Regions from separate parts of the Homo sapiens genome. Here regions 1 and 3 are each linked to region 2. Evidence: promoter capture Hi-C in human tissues and cell types (Jung and others, 2019). All regions are on one chromosome and are shown on one strand. Each heading gives the region's core, a stretch centred on a gene start or on the middle of the fragment in contact. The rest is flanking DNA. Distances are from core to core; before and after follow the strand shown.

What was found. Contacts are between HindIII fragments. The study calls those that stand out against the background at their distance.
Region 1: a contact is called between a fragment that was not itself captured here and the fragment with the promoter of KIF3A in region 2, in 1 of the 25 tissues and cell types used here (lymphoblastoid cells).
Region 3: a contact is called between a fragment that was not itself captured here and the fragment with the promoter of KIF3A in region 2, in 1 of the 25 tissues and cell types used here (mesenchymal stem cells).

The regions. Positions count from the first base shown.
Region 1 is chr5:132,581,152-132,584,631 of GRCh38, reverse strand. The region is part of intron 5 of RAD50 (RAD50 double strand break repair protein); the gene reads right to left. Among named protein-coding and RNA genes, the nearest start is that of RAD50, 26 kb to the right of the region's middle. The HindIII fragment of the contact is 3,914 bases long and covers 1-3,480 here.
Region 2 is chr5:132,735,217-132,739,048 of GRCh38, reverse strand. KIF3A (kinesin family member 3A) reads left to right here and starts at 1,503. Exons shown (of 19, transcript NM_001300791.2): 1 at 1,503-1,635. The coding sequence starts at 1,630. RefSeq lists a silencer at 1,639-1,948 and an enhancer at 2,099-2,198. The HindIII fragment of the contact is 7,994 bases long and covers 1-3,031 here.
Region 3 is chr5:132,602,738-132,606,377 of GRCh38, reverse strand. RAD50 (RAD50 double strand break repair protein) reads right to left here. Exons shown (of 25, transcript NM_005732.4): 14 at 2,889-3,078; 15 at 2,332-2,458; 16 at 1,379-1,572. Among named protein-coding and RNA genes, the nearest start is that of RAD50, 48 kb to the right of the region's middle. The HindIII fragment of the contact is 3,550 bases long and covers 581-3,640 here.

The DNA.
Region 1 (3,480 bases), core at 622-3,121, 150 kb after region 2:
TTATAGCAGCATGATTTATAATCCTTTGGGTATATACCCAGTAATGGGATGGCTGGGTCAAATGGTATTTCTATTTCTAGATCCTTGAGGAATCGCCACACTGACAAATGGGTTCTAATTAAACTAAAGAGCTTCTGCACAGCAAAAGAAACTACCATCAGAGTGAACAAGCAACCTACAGAATGGGAGAACATTTTTGCAATCAACTCATCTGACAAAGGGCTAATATCCAGAATCTACAAAGAACTCAAACAAATTTACAAGAAAAAAACAAACAACCCCATCAAAAAGTGGGTGAAGGATATGAACAGACACTTCTCAAAAGAAGAGATTTATGCAGACAACAGACACATGAAAAAATGCTCATCATCACTGGCCATCAGAGAAATGCAAATCAAAACCACAATGAGATATCATCTCACACCAGTTAGAATGGCGATCAATAAAAATCAGGAAACAACAGGTGCTGGAGAGGATGTGGAGAAAGAGGAACACTTTTACACTGTTGGAGGGACTGTAAACTAGTTCAACCAAAAACAACTTAATGTCCATCAGCCACAGAATGGATGAGGAAAAAAATTATAATACATGCATACAATGGAAGGAATGCTCCTCCACAATAAAAAGGAATGAATTGCCGGGCACAGTGGCTCACACCTGTAATCCCAGCACTTTGGGAGGCCGAGGTGGGCAGATCATCTGAGGTTGGGAGTTCGAGACCAGCCTGACCAACATGGAGAAACCCCGTCTCTACTAAAAATACAAAAAAAATTAGCTGGGTATGGTGGCACATGCCTGTAATCCCAGCTACTTGGGAGGCTGAGGTAGGAGAATTGCTTGAACCTGGGAGACGGAGGTTGCAGTGAGCCGAGATCATGCCATTGCACTCCAGCCTGGGCAATAAGAGTGAAACTCCGTCTCAAAAAAAAAAAAAAAAAAAAGGAATGAATTACTCACACATGCAGCAACATAGATAAATCCCAGACACAAAAGTCTGCATACTGTATGATTCTATATATGTGCCACTCTCTGGAAAAGGCAAAACTATAATGACAGAAAACAAATTAGTGGTTACTATGGATGGGAGCAGGGGAGAGGACTGACTGCAAGGACTTTGAGAGAACTTTTTGGAGTGACTGAAATATTCTACATCTTCATTTTAGTGATGGTTATGCTACTGTATGCATATGTCCTAACTCATAGAATTTATACTCTAAAAAGGGTGGATTTTACCATATATATATTATACCTTAATAAACTTGACTTAAAAAGAAAAAAAGGTATAAACTTAGGAATCAGAGGACTCAAATCCTACCTTTAACCCTTATTTCCACTGTGAATACCTGTACCTCAGTTTTCCTGCCTATACAACCTCACAGTTACTATGGAGTTTACATTATACATTTTAAAGCACTCGGGTTAGTGTTAGGCAGTAAACATTCAATTAATGAGACCATTTGCACCACTTGTGAAAAAAATTCTGTACTCAGAAAATACCTTTTGAGTAGAGTCTAACAAATATAACTGGATGGATACTTAAGAGCAATGAATACTAACAGCTCTACTATGATACTCTACAAAGTGCTCAGTTTCTTTCCATCAGTGTTTTCACTGCCTCTTGGTAGCACAAACATTATGATAATCATCTGGGCTTGGATCTTTCATGACATCTCTACCTGCTTCATTCCTTAAATCCAGCCAGTCACCAGATCCCCTGAATTCCTTCTTTGACATCTGTGTTTTGGTTCTAATCTCAGAGCACAAAACATAGGTTCTATCCCCAGAGTACACACCTAGTAAAAGGAGCTAGGACAAGCAGGCAGACAACAATAACAAAAACAGCCAAGGGTTTAAAGCTTAGGTGCCAGTGTGAAATGAGATAAAAAAAATAGAGCAGCTGGGCTATCAAGTATAGAAGGACCATGAACTTGTGTGCAGAAAAAAAAAGTTAGAAACATATTCCTCTAGCAATTCCCATTTAAGGCAAGAAAGGAAAACAGATCTAAGTAGGCCAAAAAAAGAGGACAGGATATGGTGGGATGGTAATAAAGTAGTTTATGAGAGAGTGAGAGTTCCCGAAGATAAAGGGAATCAGTAAAAATGGGAAAGGATGCATTCTAGTGCATGGTTGAAAGGACGTAGTCTTTTCTGGGAAGGTGATTTGACCCAAACTTTAATTGGGTTCTATGAAGGGAAGAATCTTCACATGTCAGAGCTAAAAAAAAGGACTTTGGAAGTCATCTACTTAATAAACATTTATTGAACCACCTGCTATGTGCCAGGCACTAGGCTAGGCTCTGAGGATACAGAGAAGAATATTAAACCCTTGGAGAATTACTCACAATTAAACACAAACAAGTAAATAAATACCTCAACCTCTGCTACAGCCTTGGTTAGAATCTTGGCACCACTCACTAAATCCTAGGTATTATCATTTAGCCCTACCTTGACATCATTTCCAATATAAATGCTTCATTTCAACAATATGGATTTCCTTGACAGTGTTCAAAGACAGCTTGGATTTTACTGTCTCTATGTCTCCAATGACTTACTCATTTATGATCAAAAAAGTCATGGCCAAATTCAGTCCTATGAAATCCTCTCTGGCTACCTCAGATAGAAATTCTCTTTCTTTATCCTCAGAGCTCCTACAGGTCTTGTTTTTTTCTCTGCCTTACCATTACATGTGCTTGTCATCTCTCCAACCAAGATGCTCCTCAAGAAAATAAAACGTGGAGTGGGGCAAGGGGGAAAGAAGAAAAAAAAAGGAAATCTGTTCTAATATCTTGGTAATTACCACGGGACCCACACAGAGTTATCAGGACAACTCATCCTAAAATATAACATAGTCTTCCACTCTTCTGTCTATTGAACTAAGTCTGAAATCCATTAGCTTTCTATAATCTGACCCCGATTCATATTGGTCATTTACTCCTTTTATATTGATTTACTTAACCCAGACTCTTCCTCTCATAATCCTGTTCTGATTAAGCTTGTAAAGGTAAATATGCACATACATACAAGTGAATGTTTGTATATACATATGTATTGTATATATGCAGTTAAAAAAAGTTGCAGGTAAAATATACTCTGGAAGGTTAGAGATGAGAAATGGAAGACTATCTTTTACTTTTCACCTAATATCCTTTTATAACTTTTTTACTAGGGGCACATATTACTTTTAAAAGAAAAGTCAAAATAAATACAAACATTTCCAGGTGCGGTGGCTCACGCCTGTAATCCCTGCACTTTGGGAGGCCGAGGCGGGCAGATCACTTGAGGTCGGGAGTTCGCGACCAGCCTGACCAACATGGAGAAACCCCGTCTCTACTAAAAATACAAAAAATTCTATTTTTTTTTTTTATTTAGCCGGGCGTGGTGGCTCATGCCTGTAATCCCAGCTACCCTGGAGGCTAAGTGGGAGAATTGCTTGAACCCGGGAGGCAGAGGTTGCAGTGAGCCGAGATCGTGCCACTGCAC
Region 2 (3,832 bases), core at 254-2,753:
TATAAAATATTGAATGGTGATAGGTACTATGGAGAAATATAAAGTGGGGAGGGAAAAAAAGAAGAGTTTGGGCTGAAGGTTGAAATTTTAAATAAGGAAATCATGTTAGGGTTCACTGGGGTTATGTGAACAAAGACTTTCTGGAGGAGGTGAGTGGTCAGGTGGTTTTTTAGGGAAAGAGCTGTCTAGGCTGCCTGGGTTTGGACCTGGGCTCTGCCATTGTTTATATGTATGACCTTGGAAAAGTTATTTAATGGTCCTGTGCCTCAATTACTTTATCTGTAAAATAATAATAAATAGTATCTATTTCAAAAGGTTATTGTGTGGATTAAATGAATTAAAAAACGAAAGCATGTAGAACAGTACACTGGCACTATGTAAAATGCTTTATCTTTATTTCTATCAGTTCCTACTGCAAGCTCACAGCCCTTGCATGCTAAGATGGAAGCACGACGGGAATGTTGGATGAAGCAAGGAGGCCAGGTGGGGCTGGTGCAGAAGAAGCAAGAGGGAGGATTGTAGGGCTTGTGGCTTTAGCTTTGTAAGATGGGAAATCAATGGAGGGTTTTGAGCAGAGAAAAGAGAAGATCTGATTCATGTTTTAGCACCAGCACTCTGGCTCCTGTCCAGCACACTGAAAAGGGACAAGGACACACAATCAAGGAAACCAGTTCTGAGCGATTGTAGTAATGCACGTGAGAGACGATGGTGGTGGTAGAAGTGGCCAAATTCTGGTTCCACTACAAAGATAGATACAACAGGCTGTATTTAAAGATAGAATATTGTGTATGAAAGAGACTGCAATTTTGACCTGAGCAGTTGTCGGAATTAAGCTCCCACATATTGAGATGAAGAAAGTCTGAGAGGGATGAGAGAGAGCCCTTTTAAATTTTTTGATGGGGGTGGAGTGGGTAGTGGGGCGATTGATGGGGGATCAAGATTTCAATTCTGGACATGATTAACTTGAAATGCCCATTACACATTCAAGTGGACTAGAAAGAGGATGGACGGATCACTGGTTCTTTGACCAACACGTATAAAAATCCCACTCTGTGCCAGGCTCTGTGTGGGCTCTGGAGATAGATGTGAGAATACTAACAATCTCCTTAAGAGAGCTCACTTTCTAATGGTAAGACAGGTCATGAGGAAGTTAGCAATCAAGCGAGGTCAGGTAGGTAAGGTCTTCAATTCTTCGGATGAGACAAAATGTACAATTGCTATTACTGATTTTAATATTCCGGGTATTGCAAGGGCCAGAAGACGGGCCTAAGAGCAGCTCCTCCTCCCAACCCCGGGCTGCCAGGTTACCTCCGCCTCAGTGCGTGCCACATTTCTAGCGCAGCAGAATGGCAGCATTGCGCACGCGCGGCCTCAGTCTGGCGTCCTAGGAGATGGACTCGGAAAGCCTCCGCGCAGGCGTAATTCAAGGGCCGAGAGAGCCTGAGACTGGGCTTGGGGCGGGGCGAGCTCGGAATGCGGCTGCGCACTGGGCGCTCTCGCCCGAGAAGCCGCAGTCTCGAGAGCGTCAACGAGGTGTTTCGGTAGTCTCTGGCCATCCTTTCTGCGCACCCGGTGTCGCTGGGCTGCACCCCGGGCGGGGACGTCCGCCGGGCACGGGAGGGGGCCAAGATGCCGGTGAGGAGAGTCGCTTCGCTTCTGGGGTTTCTTCTCATCCTAGCGGCCTGGCCCGGGGGCGCGGCCGTTGCCATGGAGGCGCGGAGCCGGCAGGCGGCCTGGGTGGGGCGGGGCAGGCTCGGTCGTGCGGTGGAGGTGGTTGGAGAGCCTGGCTGGTCAGCCCCGGGGCCGCGGGGGTCCGGCCGGCCTCGACAGGGACCTGGGGTCAGGCCCTGCCGCCCTCGTCGCTGCTGCATCCCGTGGGGCCTGCGCCGCTTATCAAAAAGGCGCTGTGCTGGAGGATGCGCTCTGGCTCGCAGCCCTTCCTGCTGAGCGGGGCGTCTGGGGGTGGCCACGGTGGGGCTCTTTGGATGCTGCACACCTGGTGAGGCCTTTGCGCCTCGGAGCAAGCGCAGGGAGGCAGCGGAGCGAAGGCTGCCTGCCCCTATTCCAGGCCCCATACTCCGAGTCTCCTAGCCTTGAGCTGTCATTGCTCTTGTGGCGCTTTAGCTTATGATGCAGAATGAAACCCGTAGGTGTCTTTGTGTGTGTGGCGGTGTTATGTTTATCTTCCAGGATTTCACAGATTGTTATCGTGAACTTAATAATGGGGCCTTCTAAGACCCCTTATTAGGGGTCATGGAGGAAAATTGAGCCATGGCCGCTTATTTAGTGGTTGTGAGGCCTCGGATAATTATTTAATCTGTCTGGGTCCTTAGTTCCCATGTAAACTTTACCTCATGGGGTTGTTATCCGCGTGAAATAATACACAGGAGACTAGAAGGACAGTGCTTGACATTTAAGATTAAATGCTCTATATTTGTTCTGTTCACTGCTTTCAAGTTTTAATTCAGTAAATATTGGGCACCAACCACATGCTAGGCCCTGAAGATACAACATTGAGCAACACCAGTCAGGTTCTTGAACTTGGAAAGAGAGAGGCTTGCCTTCTTGGGCAGAGGTGAAAATCATACATATTTACAGACGTAAGACACAAAACCTTAATAATGAAGTGGGTGGGTATCCTACAATAGAGAGAAGTAGATTCTGGTGAATTGGAATGTATTGCCATGTAAGAATGATGGTCTGCAGATGATAACAGGTCATTTTTTTTCCTCCCAAGAAGAGACTTTAGAAATTATTTTTGTGAAATTTCTCAATTTTAGCAACTAATTCAAAAGCTCTTTAAATACTATGAACCAAACAAAAGAAATTTGTGGGCTGAATTCAGCCTCTTGACTACCTGTTTGCAACCTCTGGTGTAGACAGAAAGACATTAATCAAATAAGGAACAAGCAAAAGTAAAATTTGTGTCCAGGAAGGGGAGAGCAGGGTGCTCTCTGAGCCTATAAGAGTATTTGACCTAGTCAGGAAGTCTTCCCAGGTGAAGTGGCTGTTGAGTTCTGAAGGATAAGTAGATGTTAACTAAGTGAAGAGGGGATTGAAGATGGTTCTAGGTAGAAGGAACAGCACATGGAAAGGCCAGTGGTGAGGAGCATGGTGACAAGAAAAGGCCAAGCAGCTCAGTGTGGCTGTGGCATGGATGAGCCAGGCAGAATATCTTGTGAAATAAGCCCAGTGAAGCAGACGTGGGTGGAAGCCAGACCTTACAGACCACCTTAAGGATTCTGGTTTTTGTTCTGAGATCTATGGGAAACCACTGAAGAATTTTTAAGTAGGAGAGTGACATGATTAGATGTGTGTTGACACTGACTGCTATTTGGAGAATAGGCAGTAGGGCAATCTGATTAGATTCAGGAGTATAGTTAGGAGGCAGTAATCCAGGGCCAAGATGATGGTGATTTAGACTAGGGTGATGAATAGATGAGAGGAATAGGATGAGAGATAGATAGAAGTGTATTGTACTGATATAATCTGTTACTTGTCAGTGACAATGTCAGAGTCAATGACAATGACTCATATTTGTTTCTCTTCAATGCTTAGAAGAGAATCTGAAACAGTAGGAATTTAACAAGTATCTGTTCAACTAAACTGTCCTTTTCACTTCAATAATAGGATTGTGTTTCATTATATTTTCTTAATCATAAAATTTCAGAAATGACGGGGTGCGGTGGCACATGCCTGTAATCTCAGCACTTTGGGAGGCCGAGGTGGGTGGATCACTTGCGGTCAGGAGTTCGAGACCAGCCTGGCCAACATGATGAAATTCCGTCTCTACTAAAAATACAAAAATTAGCTGGGCATGGTGATGGACGCC
Region 3 (3,640 bases), core at 1,106-3,605, 130 kb after region 2:
CCATTTATTATTTTCTAGTTTATTTGCGTAGAGGTGTTTATAGTATTCTCTGATGGTAGTTTGTATTTCTGTGGGATGGGTGGTGATATCCCCTTTATCATTTTTTATTGCATCTATTTGATTCTTCTCTCTTTTCTTCTGTATTAGTCTTGCTAGTGGTCTATTTTGTTGATCTTTTTAAAAAACCAGTTCCTGGATTCATTGATTTTTTTGAAGGGTTTTTCGTGTATCTCCTTCAGTTCTGCTCTAATCTTAGTTATTTCTTGTCTTCTGCTGGCTTTTGAATTTGTTTGCTCTTGTTTCTCTAGTTCTTTTAATTTTGATGTTAAGGTGTTGAATTCAGTTATTTCCTGCTTTCTCTTGTGGGCATTTAGTGCTATAAATTTCCCTCTACACAGTGCTTTAAATGTGTCTCAGAGATTCTGGTACATTGTATCTTTGTTCTCACTGGTTTCAAAGAACATCTTTATTTCTGCCTTCATTTCGTTATTTAACCGGTAGTCATTCGGGAGCAGGTTGTTCAGTTTCCTTGTAGTTGTGCGGTTTTGAGTGAGTTTCTTAATCCTGAGTTCTAATTTGATTGCACTGTGGTCTGAGAGACTGTTTGTTATGATTTCTGTTCTTTTGCATTTGCTGAGAGTGTTTTACTTCCAATTATGTGGTCAATTTTAGAATAAGTGCGATGAGGTGCTGAGAGTTCTGGCCATTACACTAATAAAGAGCATTTCATATTAAAGAAACATGGGCTGGGTGAGGTGATGTAAGCCTGTAATTTTGGGAGGCCAAGGCTGCATTGCTTGAGGCCATGAGTTTGAGACCAGCCTGAACAACATAGTGAGACCCTGTCTCTAGAAAAATTTTAAAAATTAGCCAGGCGTGGTGGTGTGTGCCTGTAGTCCCATCTACTTGAGAGGCTGAGGCAGGAGGATTGCTTGAGCTCAGGAGGTCGAGGCTGCAGTGAGTGAGCTGTGACTGTACCACTGCATTCCAGCTTGGAAGACTGATGAAGACTCTGTCTCTAAAAGAGAAGAATGGGGCGGGGCATGCTGGCTCACGCCTGTAATCCCAGCACTTTGGGAGGCCAAGGTAGGCGGATCACCTTAGTTCAGGAGTTTGAAACCAGCTTGTCCAATGGCGAAAACCCGTCTCTACTAAAAGAACAAAAATTAGCCAGGCATGGTGGTGCACGCCTGTAATCCCAGCTACTCCAGAGGCTGAGGCAAGAGAATCACTTGAACCCAGGAGATGGAGGTTGCAGTGAGCCGAGATCGTGCTACTGCACTCCAGCCTGGGTGACAGAACGAGACTGTCTCAAAAAATAAAAATAAAAATAAATAATTAAAATAATTTTACAAAAAACATGTATGGATATTCTTACCTTTATCTCTCTGTACAAAGACTGAACTTCAGTGGATAATTCCACAGTCTGCTCCTCCAGTTGCTGACGACGTTGCAAATTAGTGGATATCTGAAGTTTCTCAGATTTTAGCTCATTTGTTGTACTTTTTAGATGTTGAATCTGTTCCTGCTGGTCCTGTATAAGCTTACGATTCAATTCAATCTTACTAGAAACTACACAAAAACATATTATCACAGTAATTAATGTAAGGGCATAGAAAATACTATTTGTATCATTCTTCCCATTTTTATCGGTCTATGGAATCCACAAATGCTATTTCTGTGGGCCCCACCCACTGCAACAAAAATACAATGAGAACCCTGCTAGTTCTCAAATCAGCTTGATGTTCCCTGCTGGCCACTCACAGGGAAAGCTTACAGGGCAGGTATGAATGAGAAAGAATACAGCTCATGGCCAGGCGCACTGGCTCACACTTGTAATCCCAGCACTTTGGGAGACTGAGGCAGGTGGATCACCTGAGGTCAGGAGTTCGAGATCAGCCTGACAAACACAGTGAAACCCCATCTCTACGAAAAAATACAAAAATTAGCTGGGCATAGTGATGTGTGCCTGTAACCCCAGCTACTCAGGAGGGTGAGGCAGGAGAATCACTTGAACCCGGGAGGCGGAGGTTGCAGTGAGCCAAGATTGCACCATTGCACTCCAGCCTGGGCGACAAAAGTGAAACTCTATCTTAAAAAAAAAAAAAAGGAAAAGAGAATACAGCTTATTTCATACTCTCCTACTGTTCAAAATCTGTTGTGCAAAGTAAGAGAACAAAGAGAAGTGATGCTTTTCAGAAAAAAAGAGCAAATATATGTGGACAGGAAGGAACTTCGTTGTCCATGTAACAGATATAAAATTGACTGTAAAAGGCATGTGCTCGCAATGTCAAAGTCTCTATGAGTACAGAAGGACACAGACTGTATTACCTGTGTCTAACTTGTGCTGTTTCTCTTGTTTCTCCTGGTTGACTTGTTGGACAGTTCGATCTAAGTCTATTCCTTGTAGCTTAGCTGCTTGTTGTGCAATTTTTCTTTCAACATCTTTAAGTTCCATCTTAAGAATATAACAAAATGATTTCCTTTAATAAACTTACTGCATTATTCAAAATCTTTAAAAATTAATTGCTCTTATCATTTATTTTTTAAATCTAAACTTATAAACCATTTCTAGATACAATTTTAGCAAAGTTTAATAGGATAAAAGTGAAATTAATTATCAGCAATTCAAATGATGTAAACAAAAGGAAGCTGACTAAAGATGAAAAACAAACAGAACTGTCTTAATTTTTAAATTTATGAATTAAAAAGTTTAAACCCAGGGATGTAAACTAAGCAGTTTCTCCCTGAGGGTATCTGAAATTCAGGATGGGGAATTCTAAACACAACCTGTACCTGAATACTAGCTACTATTTTTAACTCTCACACTTCAAATTCAAGCCACCATGGAACAAGTTTTATTCTGCCTTAAACTACAATAAACTTACCTGGAACCTCTCCATAATTGTAACATCTGTCAGGCATACTTTGGCACTTTCTTCTTCAGGCATTATTGTACCCAAGAGTGTTTCTTGTTCTTCTATGTCGTTCTTTAGGCGCTGTATGTCTCTATTGACATTCTGCAGTTTGTTTCTTAATTCTGGTATTTCCTTCTCCTTCAAATCAATTATGCTTTGCCTAAATAGAAAACACAATTAAAAATAAAGTATCTGATGTTTCTCACAGTTAGACTGAGGTTATGTATTTTTAGGAAGAATACCACAGAAGTGACATTGTGTTCTTTTCAGGGTATCATATCAGTGGATATGGAATCATGATATCAATATGTCTTATTACTGATGATGTTAATCCTTATTCACTTGGCTTAGATGGTGTTGGCCAGGTTTCTCCACTGTAAAGTTACTGTTTTAGTCTTTGTAATTAACAAGTATCTTAGGAGAGAAATGTTGAGACTATGTAAATATCTTGCTTCTCAACTTTCTGCCTACTGATTTTAGTATCCACTGACAGATCTTGCTTGCAATAATTATTACTGTGGTGTTTGTCAAACTGAGAAATATTCTACTAATGAACTGGTCATATTGACCAAAAGTGTTAAGGTCATGAAAGATAAAGACAGATTGTTACAGACTGCAGGAGCCTAAGGAGAAATAACAACTAGATGCTACGTGGGATCCTGCATGGAACCCTGAAACAGAAAAGGCATTGATGGAAAAACTGCTAAATTCGATATGGTCTG